Linked DNA regions of Homo sapiens: region 1 is linked to region 2. The links are contacts of gene promoters, found by promoter capture Hi-C in blood cells and fetal thymus (Javierre and others, 2016). All regions are on one chromosome and are shown on one strand. Each heading gives the region's core, a stretch centred on a gene start or on the middle of the fragment in contact. The rest is flanking DNA. Distances are from core to core; before and after follow the strand shown.

What was found. The method cuts DNA at HindIII sites, captures the fragments that hold promoters and counts their contacts. A CHiCAGO score of 5 or more calls a contact.
Region 1: a contact is called between a fragment that was not itself captured here and the fragment with the promoter of GJB2 in region 2, in 2 of 17 cell types (M1 macrophages and M0 macrophages). The highest score is 7.5, in M1 macrophages.

What each region holds. Positions count from the first base shown.
Region 1 is chr13:20,404,181-20,406,880 of GRCh38, reverse strand. It overlaps CRYL1 (crystallin lambda 1), which reads left to right. Exons shown (of 8, transcript NM_015974.3): 7 at 2,140-2,246; 8 at 2,639-2,700. Among named protein-coding and RNA genes, the nearest start is that of MIR4499, 28 kb to the left of the region's middle. RefSeq lists an enhancer at 526-1,045. The HindIII fragment of the contact is 6,108 bases long and covers 1-2,700 here.
Region 2 is chr13:20,191,658-20,194,357 of GRCh38, reverse strand. GJB2 (gap junction protein beta 2) reads left to right here and starts at 1,420. Exons shown (of 2, transcript NM_004004.6): 1 at 1,420-1,575. The HindIII fragment of the contact is 5,188 bases long and covers 1-1,962 here.

The DNA of each region.
Region 1 (2,700 bases), core at 161-2,660, 210 kb before region 2:
TAGGAGAGGGAGATGGAACTGGCTGCTGAGGGGTCTCGTGAGGGCGCCTGCCTGCCTGCAAGTGGGGGGATATGCAGCCACAGCAGCTCTTTCCATTTTCTTCTAATTTAATGTATTTTCAACTTGATTCTTGTGTCTCTGCCCTCCCCCACCCCAAAAGGAAGGAATAAACTGTATTTGTGTCTAGATTTTGTCTCCTTTAGTTTTAATAAATAAGCAACTAGCAAAAGTGAAGTAAATAATTTCCCAAATGAAATAAATGTGTAGGTTGTTTTCTGTTCTCCAGAAATGCTAAGCCATCTACAGTACGTATCCAGTGCTGGAAAGCTCAGGAGACTTCCAGAATTCTGCACTGCCAAATTAACACTTAGGTTAAATGAGATGACACCCCTTCTTTTATAAACAGAGTACCCATCCGTTAATTTCAGATGCTAATGTCAGAAAAGTTGGTATGTTTGAGTCTTTTACCCTTCAAAACCATTTTGGGGGAAATTTTAACACACTGAGAGAGAAGAACTATTTGAAGCAAATAAATTGCAACCCAATGATTTTAGGCTTTCAAATCAGCATAGGTCAATCAAAACTAAACCCCAAAGATGATGTTTGTTTATTTTTTGCTTTTTGAGCGTATCTAGTACCGATGGTTCGTATTTTAACTTAATCATCCACGGTTTTTGTGGGGAGTGGGAAGCTGAGCTGGGGCAGGCTCTGCACGTTCTGCAGCTTCGTTTGTCCCCATGTTACCTTTGTAGGCGGACTGACCAGCTGCTGAGCCTTTAAGGGTTTGAAAGATGTGGGAAATGAGTCAGGGTCGCAGCAGTAGCCCAGCCTATGTCCTCCATGGCGCCCAGGACTAGAAACGCCTCCTCCTCCTCTTCCAGGATCCCGGCCCTGGCTTCTGACTTGACTTGCTAAGCACAGGCCGGCACCAGCCCGTTCGCCTCCCGGCAGCAGGGAGGGGAGGAATGTGAGGGAGAGTAAGTCTGCGGGGCCCAGCGGGTCGGGGCAGGCCAGTGCTGGGTGGGGGCCGTGACTGGCCTGCGCTTTCCCCTGGGCGCACCCCATTCTCGCACAGTCAGCCTAGCCCGTGCGGCTCCCTCCCTCTCCCTCCAGGATAAGCCTCTTCCTGCATCTCTTCACCAAAGTCCCAGGGCCCTCTCCTTAGAATCTGAGAAATCATGGCTCTCCAAGGCTGGGGAGCAGCAGGAGCGTGGGGAGCGTGCATGGGGGCTTGTGCAGATGAGCGCCTGGCTCCATCCACCCAAACCAGCAAGGTACAAGCCAACGTGAGCTCTCCAACCGGTGTTTCAAGTACCTGCAGCCTTGACCGTACCCAATACAGTGCTAACTGAGATCTGTGGTCTAACAGTGACATAAGTGACAGGTTTACCTGAGATCTGACATTTTTAATTCTTGGAAAATGCATTCAAACGTTGTACACAAATAACCTTGTACACCCATGGTTGGAGGAAACACTTGGTGACATTAGGACTTACTGTGATAGCCAACAAATCAGTGTGTGAACGCAGGCCAACCGGAGGGTCCCATGAGATGCACCAGCAGAGGTGGCATGCAAGGTCTGAGGGACCTGGCACTTTTTTTTTTTTTTTGAGACGGAGTCTCGCTCTGTTGCCCAGGCCGGAGTACAGTGGCGCGATCTCAGCCCACTGCAACCTCTGCCTCCCGGGTTCAAGCGATTCTTCTGCCTCAGCCTCCTGAGTAGCTGAGATTACAGGCACCTGCCACGCCACCTGACTGATTTTTGGTATTTTTAGTAGAGACGGGGTTTCACCATGTTGGCTAGGCTGCTCTTGAACTCTCAACCTCAGGTGATCTACCCGCCTTGGCCTCCCAAAGTGCTGGGATTACAGGCATGAGCTACCGGGCCCAGCCAGGACCAGCACTTTTTGGCATTCGAACCCCCAGGAGCCAGCGTGGACAGTGCGTAATGGGGAGGGTCGCTTCTCCAGTGCCAGCAGGCCCTTACACATGCCCCAGCTCTGTCTTGTCTTCACAGGGAGGGAAGAGTGTAGCTTATCTGACCCCAGGGTGAAACTCTCTGAATGCATTTCTGAGTTTGAATATAACTAAGAATGTTTTTTTCTGAGATTGTGGATTCTTGTCTTCATACAATTCCAGGTATGTTAAGCTACTGCGACAGATACAGCGAAGGCATAAAACATGTCCTACAGACTTTTGGACCCATTCCAGAGTTTTCCAGGGCCACTGCTGAGAAGGTTAACCAGGTATGTAACTTCTCTGCAACTCACTGCAGAGAAGCATGTTGGCTACCTGGAGCACTTGCTGCCCCTCACCTCTGCAGCGGGTGGGCCTGCCTCTGCAGCTGGAATCTTTACCCTTGATCTTGGTGGTTCCTCATTCATAACTTTGTTCATACTTCCATCGTGTCACCAGGACACCTTAAGGACAGGGTGACCAGTGAACTGGTAGCTCATTGTGACTTGTCTCTGAGGGACTGAGGTCTTTCAAGATTTGGAAAGCTGCTGTTCATTGAGGGTTTATTGCTTTTGTCTTTGAAAGCAGTTTCTGCACAGTTTGCATAAACAAGAGCAATAATTACACTCTTGATAAATTATTTCCTCTTTATTGTCCTTTTTTTTCCTTCTCCTTCTTGCAGGACATGTGCATGAAGGTCCCTGATGACCCGGAGCACTTAGCTGCCAGGAGGCAGTGGAGGGA
Region 2 (2,700 bases), core at 171-2,670:
AATGCTAATAATGGTGGCAATCACGGGAAATCCATTCTGAGGCCAGATCTGACTTGTCAGGATTAATCATCATTTCCACTTAACTTCGAACTGACCTGGGTAAAAACGTGAGCGCGAGGGGACCAGGCTGCACCTCTGACCTGGCTCCCCTCTGCAAAAATCGCGAAGTGGGTGCCCGAGGTGGGGCGGGGGTTGGGGGAGACCTCCCCGGGAGTCCCCACCCAGCCTGCTCTGCACATCTTAGTCCCTCATCCGCTTGCGCTGTGCAAATCTGTCTTCTGTCATTTGTATCGCAAGACATCAAAATCCCCAACCAAATGCAAATACTGAGACCTCATAATCTGAGACAAAGTTTCACGGTATCCAGAAAGCCCCCAGCAGGTGTGCAGTGCAGAGCCAGCCCCCCAGCGGTCTTCCGCAGAATCCTATCAGTTTCCCCCTTTCGTGCTGTGTGCATCGAGCAGGAAGGGGCTTGGCAGGTTTTACCTGCCCTCTTTCCTTTCTGAAAAGTCTGGGCCTCCTCACCCCGAAAGGAGTCACCTCCTTGCAGTTCCCCAGTTGCGAAAAGAGGAGGAAGTTGGCTGGGCCGGGGGCCGCGGGGGGCACCCTCCGCAGATGGCGGGACCCCCCTGCCGGCCATGGCAAAAACGAGGCTTGTCTCTCCCACCGCCCCCAACCTTAGTCCTTGGCACATTGTTGAAAGTAATTGAATAAAATCGGAAATTCGAGAAGGCGTTCGTTCGGATTGGTGAGATTTTGAGGGGAGAAAGAAGCGGGGACTTCGCCGGCACCAGCGGCGCCCCCTCCTCGGCCACCGTTAACCCCCATTCCAGAGGGCACTGCCCCGCCACCCAGCCTAGGTCCCCCTGCGAGAGCCTCGCGGGCCCGCGCAGCCTCCGCGACTCGAACAGATCTTCAGTCCTTGGAGGAATGCCTGTTTCTCTAACAATAAAAAATTAAAGAAGCGCTCATAAATGCCAAGTCCTCTCGCACTATGCGGAGTACAGAGGACAACGACCACAGCCATCCCTGAACCCCGCCCACGGCACAGCGCCGGAGCCGGGGTCTGGGGCGCCGCTTCCTGGGGGGTCCCGACTCTCAGCCGCCCCCGCTTCACCCGGGCCGCCAAGGGGCTGGGGGAGGCGGCGCTCGGGGTAACCGGGGGAGACTCAGGGCGCTGGGGGCACTTGGGGAACTCATGGGGGCTCAAAGGAACTAGGAGATCGGGACCTCGAAGGGGACTTGGGGGGTTCGGGGCTTTCGGGGGCGGTCGGGGGTTCGCGGACCCGGGAAGCTCTGAGGACCCAGAGGCCGGGCGCGCTCCGCCCGCGGCGCCGCCCCCTCCGTAACTTTCCCAGTCTCCGAGGGAAGAGGCGGGGTGTGGGGTGCGGTTAAAAGGCGCCACGGCGGGAGACAGGTGTTGCGGCCCCGCAGCGCCCGCGCGCTCCTCTCCCCGACTCGGAGCCCCTCGGCGGCGCCCGGCCCAGGACCCGCCTAGGAGCGCAGGAGCCCCAGCGCAGAGACCCCAACGCCGAGACCCCCGCCCCGGCCCCGCCGCGCTTCCTCCCGACGCAGGTGAGCCCGCCGGCCCCGGACTGCCCGGCCAGGAACCTGGCGCGGGGAGGGACCGCGAGACCCAGAGCGGTTGCCCGGCCGCGTGGGTCTCGGGGAACCGGGGGGCTGGACCAACACACGTCCTTGGGCCGGGGGGCGGGGGCCGCCTTCTGGAGCGGGCGTTTCTGCGGCCGAGCTCCGGAGCTGGAATGGGGCGGCCGGGGAAGTGGACGCGATGGCACCGCCCGGGGTGCGAGTGGGGCCGGGCGCGCGCGGGAGGGGAAAAAGGCGCGGGCGAGCCGCCAGCGCGAGGTTTGTGGTGTCGCCGATGTCCCTTCGGGGTACTCTAGCGCAGCCGCCTGGCTACTTGACCCACTGCCACCAAACGTTTTAAATTCACCGAAAGCTTAGCTTCGAAGCAAAGCTCCGTTTCGCCGGTGAAGCAGGAAGCCTTCGCTGCAGGAACTGACCTTTACCTCTTGGAGCGGCTTCTGCAGAAAAATCCCCGGGCAGAGATTTGGGCGGAGTTTGCCTAGAACTAACGCGGAGCCAGCCGATCCCGGCCTACCCCGGGGCCAAGATTTCAGTGGCTTCCCTTTTTCCTAAACACTTCACGAGGGTCTGTTTCCGGGCTGTGCTCCCCGCCTAGAAGGAAAATTTTTAGGACCCTTGTTCGCGAAGAGGTGGTGTGCGGCTGAGACCCGCGTCCTCAGGACGGTTCCATCAGTGCCTCGATCCTGCCCCACTGGAGGAGGAAGGCAGCCCGAACAGCGCTCACCTAACTAACAGCTGCTGAGAGCTGGGTTCCGTGGCCATGCACCTGGGACTGCCTTGAGAAGCGTGGTACGGCCGTGTCCCCATGTGACCTTAGAGTCCCTTTCGAAACTGCTGTGCACAGTCGGTCACAATTTCAGACACTGGTGAGAAGGGTGGAGGAACCCTCTGGGGACAGCCAGGCAAGGTCGACCACCCATCACCTAAGGGTGGAGAAATTTAAGGGGTGAAGAGTCCCTTTTGCCTTTTCTGGATCCTGGTGATTCACCTAGTGTCTTCCCTAAGGAACTGAACCAACTCCTCCGCTGGCCTCTGGCAGCCCTCCAGGCGGTGCAGGATGGCGTGGGCCCGGTAGGAAGCTGCATGTAACCG